Regions from separate parts of the Homo sapiens genome. Here all the other regions are linked to region 3. Evidence: promoter capture Hi-C in 16 types of primary human blood cells and fetal thymus (Javierre and others, 2016). All regions are on one chromosome and are shown on one strand. The core of a region is centred on a gene start or on the middle of the fragment in contact, and the rest is flanking DNA. Distances in the headings are between cores, read along the strand shown.

Evidence for each region. The method cuts DNA at HindIII sites, captures the fragments that hold promoters and counts their contacts. A CHiCAGO score of 5 or more calls a contact.
Region 1: a fragment that was not itself captured here is called in contact with the fragment with the promoter of OR11H4 in region 3 in 1 of 17 cell types (erythroblasts); the score reaches 5.1 in erythroblasts.
Region 2: a fragment that was not itself captured here is called in contact with the fragment with the promoter of OR11H4 in region 3 in 1 of 17 cell types (erythroblasts); the score reaches 6.1 in erythroblasts.

Annotation. Positions count from the first base shown.
Region 1 is chr14:19,878,254-19,882,022 of GRCh38, reverse strand. It overlaps OR4K2 (olfactory receptor family 4 subfamily K member 2), which reads right to left. Exons shown (of 2, transcript NM_001005501.2): 2 at 1-3,769. Among named protein-coding and RNA genes, the nearest start is that of OR4K2, 5.0 kb to the right of the region's middle. The HindIII fragment of the contact is 200 bases long and covers 2,215-2,414 here.
Region 2 is chr14:19,898,954-19,902,606 of GRCh38, reverse strand. It overlaps LOC124903278 (a long non-coding RNA gene), which reads left to right. Exons shown (of 4, transcript XR_007064055.1): 4 at 1-146. Among named protein-coding and RNA genes, the nearest start is that of OR4K5, 20 kb to the left of the region's middle. The HindIII fragment of the contact is 2,116 bases long and covers 1,167-3,282 here.
Region 3 is chr14:20,237,712-20,241,746 of GRCh38, reverse strand. It overlaps OR11H4 (olfactory receptor family 11 subfamily H member 4), which reads right to left and starts at 2,461. Exons shown (of 2, transcript NM_001004479.2): 1 at 2,416-2,461. The HindIII fragment of the contact is 16,826 bases long and covers 1-4,035 here.

The DNA of each region.
Region 1 (3,769 bases), core at 1,065-3,564, 360 kb after region 3:
CTGTAAGTCTTTGAATTATTCACAAGCATTTAATACATTGTATTAAATCTGCTTAATTTACCCAATGGTTTCCGTTTTCTTAACTGTAGGACAACCAATATAAGTACACTCAAACAAGAAGAAAAAATTGATATAAATATATTATTATATAAAAACAAATTACTAATTAAATTGCTATTTCTAGTCTCAAACTAAAAAAAAAAATCTCTCCTTTAAATTTTCTTTAACAGGTGGCAAGTGAGCAAAGGGAGAAAAATCTGGCTTTTGTTGATGGCTTCAGATTCCTAGTACAGTTAAAACACAAAGAAAAAAGGCGAATTAACAGTGGTCTTGCATTTAGTAGTCATAAAAAGGCTAATGGGGGAAAAAAACCTGGAGCCTCCAGCCCGAGAACATTTTTTAATTTAAAAAATAGGTATTCATCTCCTTATATTGGCAGTGTAAATTATCAGAGTAAAAAATAAAAATGAAACTATAGTATTTTAGTGCATACTAGATATTGGAATTTATTTGTTTGTTTTACAAAAATCAAAGAGAAAAAATAACATGTCAATTGAGTTATATTAGCAACAATAGAGACAGAATACATGAATCAATGATCCCAGTCACATTTCCAGTCTCATTTGAGTGTTGGTCCTACACGCTCCAGAATAATTTGTGCATATTTACCTCATGGTGTAACCAAGAGCATTAAAAATAATTCCAAACAACAAAGCACAACAGAAACTTATAAACCAAAAAACTATCAAGTTGCTTAGCGGATTTCATTGGCATCTGAGAGTACATGCAAGAAGTTCACATGAATTAGATTTCCCTGGCTGTTTTCTTCTCCCCGTTTTTCAATTGACATATACATCCAAAAATCATGCAAAATAATATCAGGGAAAGAATAGGGAAATAGGAGGATTACTCCAACTCTCTCAACAAATTTTGCTATAACTGAGTTGTTTAAAAACTCACATGTAGAGAATAGATTCACTGGTAGTTTTTTAAATTTGAAAATACTTTCATAAGGAGTCTGGATATGCACAAATAACAGCATTTTACCAAGAACTTCTATATAGCAGCATAATCCAGTGATCACATTATCCTAAACCCTTATCAATGCAGAAAAATACTTCACATAAGACAGCTCATATAATACAAAACTTCATCTATCTACTAATCTATCCATCTGCCTATCTCTTCACCTTAATAATATGAGTCAAACATCATTCTTATTCTGACAACAATTGTAATGTGAATTCATCCTAAAATCAATAAACCAATTTAATATTTATTCATTGTAAAGAAGCAATAGCATAATGATTAAGCAACAACTTGATACTTCTCTTGATTAATGACAGTTGTGAACAGACAGAAAAACAAGTTTCCAGAAGCTTTAATTAATGTAAGAACCAGTGTAATTTTCTAGTGGAAGTTACTTTTAATTTTTCAAATTAATACTGACACACATATACAGACATGAATATTTAAAACATATAAATGAAAATTTACCTTTTAAATTAAACAAGTCAAGTGTTAGCTCAAGAGACTATCAAGTCCCATAAACAAAGATATCCAGAGGTTATCACCCAGAATGATACAATGACTAACATTTATTGACAACCATATGCTTCATATTATTTGCTTCTTTTATGCCTCAAATAACTCTGTGGTGTAGAGACCACTATTATCTCCTTTAACATATGTAGAAACTGAGGCTAAGAGGTATTAAGTACTTAGCTTAAGTTTACACCACTAGTAGTAGAAGTAGTATTAAACACTGTTTAAAAAAAAAAAAGATACCAGAGTCTAAGACTTTTAAAACTACACATTAGACTTCAGATTCTGCAGAGCCTTTTAATGCAGGGGTGTCCAAAGTTTTGGCTTCTCTGGGCCACATTGGAAGAAGAATTGTGTTGGGCCACACATAAAATACACTGATACTAAAGATAGCTGATGAGCTTTACAAAAAAATCACAAGAAAATCTTATAATGTTTCAAGAAAGCTTATGAATTTGTGTTGGGCTGAATTTAAAGCCATCTCCTGAGCCGCATGCAACCTGCAGGTCATGGGTTGGACAAGCTAGGCTTAAAGCTTATACAGTTTGAGGACACCTGTTTCAGGAAAAAAAAATCGAAATAACTAATAAAAGGTTGTTAGTTTCCATTCTAGGGCCTTCGAGGAAATCCATGCAAAGGAGGAGTTATAAAACCTAAGCTTTACAAGCTTTATGGTAAATCCACCATCATTATACCATATAGTATTCTAAAAGTTTTCTTAAGCATTTTTAGAAACAAACATAATTTGTAGTTTTTATTGCTATTACATATATCCAGTTCCTTCACATATTAAAATTTACACTTTATCTGTTTTTATCTATACCTGATTTTTAACAGTTTTTCCATCTGCATTCAATTGTTGTCAAGCTTCACAGCTTCCTAAACACGTAGAGGAAGATGAAGTTGCTTGTCAACACACTCTTCTTATAAATGCTCCAGAACTCCCTCAGTTGTGTTATTGCAGATAGTGCAGATCACTTAAAATTATACTTGCCTGCTTATCTTGTATTCTCTGCAGAACATTATCTCTGTCTCTGGAAACTCTGGTGGCAGCTGGCACCATCCTTACTATTGCTTAACGAGTCCATGGCCATGTCACTGCAGTTATCCTTGGTGAAAGAGTGTCAGCATCTTGTCTAAGAGATATATCGATAAAACCAACCACCATGAGTCCTAAAGTCCTAACTAAGATTTTTAAGTGTTTATATAACATGCAGAGGTACCATGAATATTGACTCCTCACACTAAGCCACCGAGAAATGTGATAGTTCCATTTATATATGTAAGCCCTCCAAAGGCTTTCTGTAATCCTTTTTATTATCAGCCACAGAATTTTACTATCAATCCAACTACTTAATCTCATTATTGACTTGCCTTATAGAGTTGTCTGCTGATCAGCTACACCTTTGAGGGTATTTTGGCAAATGTTCTTGAGTTTTAGAATTCTCCACAAAAGCACAGAAAATCAATAGCGTCTCTTCCAAAAGATTCCACAGTTTTATATTGCAAAAAGCAGCACAGTTTTGAAAATATTCCCTGGACAAAGAAATATGTCAAGTAAAAGAATTATTTCTAGCATTTTTAAGCACCAGCTAAAACATTCTACATAAACGAAGTCCTTGAATATGAACATATTTGTACATATAACTGCAACCAAGAGAAAGTTCACACTCAAAACCTAAATTGGCCTATTTGTATCCCTATTTAAAATAGAATTATGCTAATCTTGTGCTTACAGAAGCATGTTTTATTTTATGTTAATACTGTAGACGTTATTATCTAATAATTTCAAAACTGCTCAGGCTTTAAACACAGTATCACAGACTTTCAAGCTGTAAGTTTTTTCCTTATTTGCTTAGTACATTAATGAAGAAATAAAACACAAACTGATGAAGAAAAAATAAATTCCTTTTATAACTTGGTTTAATATGAACATCTAAGGATTTTCTGTTTTAATTATCTTTCATAAATGATAATTAATGCATTTCATTTGTTTTCTCCATTTACTCAATCATACCAGAAAATAACAACTTGATATTATCAAATACTGTGGTTGCAACATATCTTTCCCTTTGTGGATACATGTTGGATCATATATAAGACACTATATTTTATCAATATCATTTAGAAAATTCTAAATAAGAGTTAACTCATGAATGTTTGCCATCATTTAAAGATGATTTGCAAAGTAGGGTATACACAATTATTTTTCCTCTTTCAATAC
Region 2 (3,653 bases), core at 975-3,474, 340 kb after region 3:
AAAAATTAAAGTTGAGCAATCATATTGCCCAATGGGTGTCAAAACCATTGTGCCCAGATCAGCTGCAGATGAGAGCAGAGCTTTCAATGGCAATTTTAAACAAGTATATATTAGTAGGTTATTGCATTACTGTAAAGCAATACCTGAGACTGGGTAATTAATTTTAAAAAGAAGTTTAATTGGCTCATGGTTCTGCAGGCTGTACAAACATAGCATAAGCATCTGCTCAGCTTCTAGTAAGAACTTCAGGAAGCTTACAACCACGGCAAAAGGTAAAGGGGAAGCAGGCACATCGCATTGTGAGAGCAGAAGCAAGGGGAGCAGGAAGATGCCACATGCTTTTGAACAACCAGTTCTCGTGGGAACCGACTCATTACCAAATGGATGGTGCTAAAGCCATGCATAAGGGACCCGCCCCCATGATCTAAACACCTCCCACCAAGCACCACCTCCGACACTGGGGATCACATTTCGACATGAGATCTGGGGGGGAAAAATATGTAAACCATATCATTCTACCCCTGGCCCTCCCAATCTCATGTCTTTTTCACATCACAAAATAATCATCTCTTACTAACAGTCCCCCAACGTCTTAACTCGTTCCAATATCAAATCCAAAGTCTTAAGTCTCATCTGAGACTCATCTCCTTTCACCTATGAGCCTCTAAAATCAAAAGAAGTTATTTACTCCCAAGCTCTAATAGTAGTACAAGCATTAGGTAAACATTACTATTCTGAAAGAGAAAAATTGGCTAAAAGAAAAGGATAATAGGTCCCATGCAAGTCTGAAAACCAGCAGGGCAGTCATTAAATATGAAAGCTCCAAAATAATCTCCTTTGACTCCATTTCCCACATCCAGAACATATTGATGCAAAGGGTGGACTCTTAAGGCCTTGAGAAACTCTGCCTATGTAGCCTTGCAGGTTGCAGTCCCCATGGCTGCTCTCACAAGTTGGAGTTAAGTGCCTGTGGTTTTTCCAGGCACAGTGTGCAAGCTGCAGGTGAATTGACCATTCTGGGGTCTAGAGAGTGGTGTCCCCCCTCCCACAGCTCCACTAGGCAGTGCCCCAGTGGGGACTCTGTGTGGGGACTCCAACCCCACATTGCCCCCTCAGCATTGCCCCGGTAAAGGTTCCCTGTGAAGTCTCCTCCCCTGTGGCAAGCTTCTGCCTGGGAATAGAGGCTTCCTCATATACCCCCTGAAACACAGGTGGAAGCTGCCAAACCTTTTTCACCCTTGCCACAGTATTCTTCTGTGTACATGCAGGATTAACACCACATAGAAGGCACCAAGGATTACAGCTTGCACCCTGTGAAGGAGCAGCCCAAGCTGTACCTGGGACCCTTTGAACTGCGGCTGGAACTGAAGCAGCCGGAATGTGGGAGCAGTGTCTTGAGGCTGAGCAGAGCAGTGCCATCTTGGGCCTGGCCCCTGAAATCGTTCTTTCCTCCTAAGCCTCTGTCCCTATGATGGGAGGGGCTGTCTCCAAGATCTCTGAAATAAATACATTTGGAGCCTTTTTCCCATTGTCTTGAGTATTGGCACTTGGCTGCCCTTTAGTCATGCTAGTCTCTCTAGCAAGTGATTGCCCTACAGCCTGCTTGGATTGGATTCTTTCTCTGCCACATGTCCAGGCTAAAAATATTTCAGAGTTTTACACTCTGCTTCCCTTTTAAATACATCTAAATTTATTTCTTTTTTCTCATATCTGACCATAGGCTGTTATAAGCAACCAGGCCACATCTTGAATGTTTTACTACTTAGAAATTTCTTCCATTAGATACCCTAAGTAATCACTCTTAAGTTAAAACTTCCACAGATCCCTAGAACATGAACACAATGCAAACAAGTTCTTTGCTATGGTGTAACATGAGTGACCTTTACTCCAGTTCCCCAAAACTCTCATTTCTATCTGAGACCTCATCAGTGTGGTCTTCACTGTCCATATTTCTATTAGTATCTTGGTCACAACTATTTAACCAGTCTCTAAGAAGTTCCAAACTTTCCTTCATCTTCCTGTCTTCTTCAGAGCCCTCCAAACTTTTTCAAACTTTGCCCATTATCCAGTTCCAAAGCTACTTCTACATTTTCAAGTATCCTTATAGCAACGTCCCACTCCTCATTACCAATTTTGTATTAGGTCATTCTTGAATTGCTATAAGGAAATACCTGAGACTGGGTAATTTATAAAGAAAAGGGGCTTAATTGATCACAGTTCCTTAACTGGTAGGAAGAATGGTGCCAGCATCTGCTTCTGATGAGGGCCTCAGGAGCTTACAATCATGACAGAGGACAAGTGGGGAGAAAGTGCATCACATGGCAAAAACAGGAGCAAGAAAGAGAAAGAGGAGTCTCAGATTCTTAAACAACCAGATCTCACTGAACGAAAACTCACTTATCATCAAGGGGATGCTACTAAGACATTCATGAGGGACTCACCTCCTGATTCAATCACCTCCAACCAAGCCCTACCTCCAACATTGGAAATCACATTTAGACATGAGATTTGGAGGGGACAAACATCCAAACTATATCAAGTGGGATCAAGATCCTGAAATATTTCTTTGAAGAATTGTAACAGAACATGAAACATGGCTTTACCAGTATGATCCCAAAGACACAGCACAATCAAAAGAATGACTACCAAGAGATAGTATTGGTACAATCAAAGTTGTCCAGTCAAAAACAAAGGTTATGGCAACAGAATTTTTGGATTCTCAAGGAATTTTGTTTGTTGACTTTCTGAGGGGGGGGGGCAAAGAATGGTAACATCTGTTTATTATAACAGTGTTTTGAGAAAGCCATGCTTTAGCAGCAAAATGCACAGGAAAGCCTGAACAGAGAGTCTTTCTTCACCATGCCAATCCTCTTACTCATTCTTCTCAGGAACCAAGAGCAATTTTGTGAGGGTTTTGATGGGGAATTTTAAGAACTTCTGGTTTAAAAGTAGAACTACACTGAAATATAATTTTTCATATATTACATTGACAAAAATCTAAAATTTCAATGTACTCTCTTGAGAAGTCTATGAGGTACTCATATATATGAGGTACTCTCATATAAATGAGAATGCAATAAAAAGGAAGTGTATTTGGCAATGTCTACAAAATATGTGTGCAATTGACCCTTGTACTTAGCAATTTTACTTGAAACCATAGGAAAAAAGAAAAGACTAGACATATGTTGATAACTATGAAACCTGGGTATAAATACACAGATGGGAGCATGTGAGCACATTATCATCTTTTGTATATATTTTAAACGTTCAAATTAGGAAGCTTAAAAAATAACTTTTATTCTTAACTACAATTATGCCTTCTGTCATGGCTTACTTGTCCTGTTACAAGCTTTTTGTGTTCAATGCCTGGTTAATTTGAAATCACTTTGTAACAGCACATAACTGCATTTCTTCATTGAATGATCAAGGAACTCTAGTTTACATATACTAAACTAGGAGTTGGAAATTCATTGAGGTACAAGATAGCAGGTCCTGACTTTATAGAATTTATATTCTAAGGCAGAAAGCACATACCTTGACAAATAATTAAAGTAAAATTATACTTGTTTTTTTTCATAGGGGAAGTAGAGGGTGGTATGGAAGGTTTTATTATATTTTAAAAATGTGTGGAAGGTCTCTGCTTATACATAAAG
Region 3 (4,035 bases), core at 1,212-3,711:
ATAATAATCAATAAAAACTGAGGGAACTCAGAGGCCGGTGCCGGTGCAGGTCCTTGGTGTGCTGAGTACCGGTCCCCTGGGCTCACTGTTGTTTCTCTATACTTTGTCTCTGTGTCTTATTTCTTTTCTCAGTCTCTCGTCCTACCAGACCAGAAATACCCACAGGTGTGGAGGGGCAGGCCACCTCTCCAGACACTAGTGGCAGAACCAGACAAATTTATTTTCTTTCTTTTCCTTGGATGCTTGAGAAGACCTTTTCAGCTTTTGATTTGTTTTTCCAATGTTGATTATGGGTTTTCTAGCACAAGTTCATCAATTTTCTCTTATTTAGCACAAGTTGTTAGAAAAGACATTTTGAGGATAACTGAAAAAAATAAAATTGGTTTAGATGTTTGAACAAAACAAAATAGATTGACTGCTGCATGGAGATACAACTCCATGATAATATTTTAAAAACATCTCTAACGAACGGCAGTGTTTATTTTTATGTTTTTTACACATACTATACAAAAAGGAACTATCTTACTTTTTGTAATCAGATACCATGTAGATGAAATAAGGAAAATGATGTTTTCTATACAAAAATTTAGTTTATTTAGTGAGCTTTTTCGGTGGTGAAAACAAAGGGATTTTCTAAAAGAATCTGAGATGAAATGGGGCTTCATCTGCAATCCTATGTATTAGAATTTTGTTTACTGAAAGGAAGGTAAGGACATTTTCAAATATTTGACTAGGTATGTACTTTTCAGTAGCAACAAGTTTATGTATTTAAGAATTAAATAAAATACACAAATGTGTTTAAACAACAGTAATCTTATACTTGATTAATACTTAAAATGTGCTGATTAAGTCTTAAAAAAGTGGTAGTTTTGGCTGGGCGTAATGTCTTATGCCTATAGTTCCAGCAATTTGAGAGGCCAAAGTGGGTAGATCGCTGAAGTCAGGAGTTTGAGACCAGCTTGGCCAACATGGTGAAAACCCTTGTCTGCTAAAAATACAAAAATTAGCTGGGTGTGGTGGTGCGTGCCTGTAATCCCAGCTACTTGGGAGGCCAAGCAGAAGAATTGCTTGAACTCAGGAGGTGGAGGTTGCAGTGAGCCGAGATCACACCATTGCACTCCAGCCTGGGTGACAGAGCGAGACTCCACCTCAAAAAAAAAAAAAAAAGAAGGTAGTTTCAATATTGAGTTTCTTGTTAAGTTTAGATCTCTTGTCTTGTTTATTGCAGGTCACCAGTCATAACTTTGTCAGAAATGTAAAAGAAAAATGTGAAAGGCAACAAAGAACACAGAAGTTGAAGGAAGGATCAGGTATTCTTGGGAACGAAGATTTGAATCTCAACATCACTAGTTCTTTGGTAGTTTTTAAGGATGCATAAAAAGGGAAATTTGGAGCATCTGAGTTCTAAAGTTGTCCAGCTTTCCAATCAATGCTGAATTTAAAAGGCATTTGTTTACCATCTTCCTTGAATAAGGTGCTCAATAGGTGATTTCCAGATTGTTGTTTACGAAGCATAAATACATCCCTTTCTCTGCTATACACAGGTCAGAGAACAAGTCCAGGCTCAGACTTAAATTGGGAACCAGAATTGTGAGATCTGAGCCTCCCGCCCTTTGTTCTGAATGCCTGCTTGATGAGAATAACAGTTTAGGACATTCTCCATTATACACTGACAACTTTACACTACACTTCGTCTTTTCTACTACCCTACTCTGCAAGTGCTTTATTAGCAGCAACATTGTTTTTTCTGAAGCCTTTGGAGAAGTGTAGATAAGTAATGGAATGATCAAAAGCTGGGGAGCTTAATAGAAAGACCCGAGTAATCAATTTCAGAGTTTTCGCATTGACGGAATAAACTGTTTCCACAAAGTTTTATATAACACCACCCTCCAAAGTCTCCAAAACGCTGTCTGGGAATAGTTAGGTAATTAGAATAGAATCTTCATTATTTTATGACACAAACATACTGTTTCTCCTGATTTTTGAGATATATCATTATTTGAGCTACAATCCTAGGAGACCAGCTCTTTCTTTTTCTTTTTCTTTTTTTTTTCTGAGACAGTCTCGCTCTGTCGCCGAGGCTGGAGTGCAGTGGCGCGATCTCGGCTCACTGCAAGCTCCACCTCCCGGGTTCACGCCATTCTTCTGCCTCAGCCTCCTGAGTAGCTGGGACTATAGGCGCCCGCCATCACGCCCGGCTAATTTTTTGTATTTTTAGTAGAGACGGGGTTTCGCCGTGTTAGCCAGGATGGTCTGGATCTCCTGACCTCGTGATCGGACTGCCTCGGCCTCCCAAAGTGGTGGGATTACAGGCATGAGCCACCGCGCCCGGCCGAAACCAGCTCTTTCATGTACTGTACTCCTTTCCAGTACAAGAAACTACCAACCAACCAATCAACCCACCAGTCCACCTACCATAAGTGTGATAGCTTGATTTAATAGCCTTCTGTTGAATGCCCCTCACTTAGTATATTGTCTTCCCAGGTGTCCTGAGAGAAGGAACACACCACCTGATTATTCCTGGAAAGTAAGATTGTTTTCAGAAAGATGGTTGTTAATGACCATAAAATCATAGAATTAGAAGAAATGGTATAATGATCTAACTTCATTTTACAAATGAGGCTCAGAGAGGGGCATGACTTTTTACCCAATAAATATGTGTCCTGGATTCACATATGGAACTTTTATACTATACTATTATACTGCCTCCTTTGAGTCTTTGCAGAGAAACAGTGCCTAATCAGATTTATAAAGTCAAAGAGACTCTGTAGCATATCATAGCAGTGGTTTCTTACCTACAATCATGGCTTTTCTGGCTCAGTTTGGAGACAGCGGTGCGCACGGCAGAAATGAGGCAGAATTGAGCATAACCTCAGCATCAAGCATCTCCTCTTCACTGGCTCTGTTGAGGAAAACTCCAGGTGAGGGCATTATATGTGGTTTATTGCCCTGCCTTCATTCCTGGAGACTCCAGAGGCTTTTCTCAGAATTTGCTGAGAGGTTTAACATGCGAATCAGTATTACATCTATGTTTTCACTCAGGGATTACTGTAAAGCCCTGTGTTTCTCCCCATATGGTTTCAGTGGCTTACCCAAGTTTCCCTGGAGTGCGTTCTCTTTCCAACACTGGGGCTCATCTATAATATATACAATAGATAGTATATATATATTTATATATAATAGATAGTATATATATTTATATATAATATATATACTATATATAGATTATATATAATATATAATAAATATATATAATTTATATAATATATGTAATATATATAATATATATTTATAATAAATATATATAATGTAATATTATATATAATATTATATACTATATATTATATATAGTATATATTTATATACTATATAGTGTATGTTATACATAGTATATATTTATATAGTATATATATTTATATATTTATATAATTATATTTTTATATATTTATAAATTATATATTATATTTATATAGAATATATAATTATATATTATATATTTATTTATATATAAATATATAAATTTATATATTTATTTATATATAAATATATAAATTTATATATTATAAATTAAGAATTATATAATTATATAATTATAATTATATAATTTAGATAATTATACTATATATTTATATAGTATATATTTATGTAGCATATATATACCATCTATTATATATACTATATAAATATACATAGTATATATTTATATATAATATATATTATATATAATATATATAATATATATAATATGTATATAATATGTATTATATATAATATATAATATATTATGTATAATACGTATTATATATAATATATAATATATTATATATAATATGTAATATATTTATATATATAATATGTAATATATAATATATTCTATATTATATATAATATATTCTATATTATATATAATATATTCTATATTATATATAATATATTCTATATTATATATAATATATTCTATATTATATATATAGTATATATATAGTATATATATATATATAGTATATATACTATATATAATATAGTATAAATAGT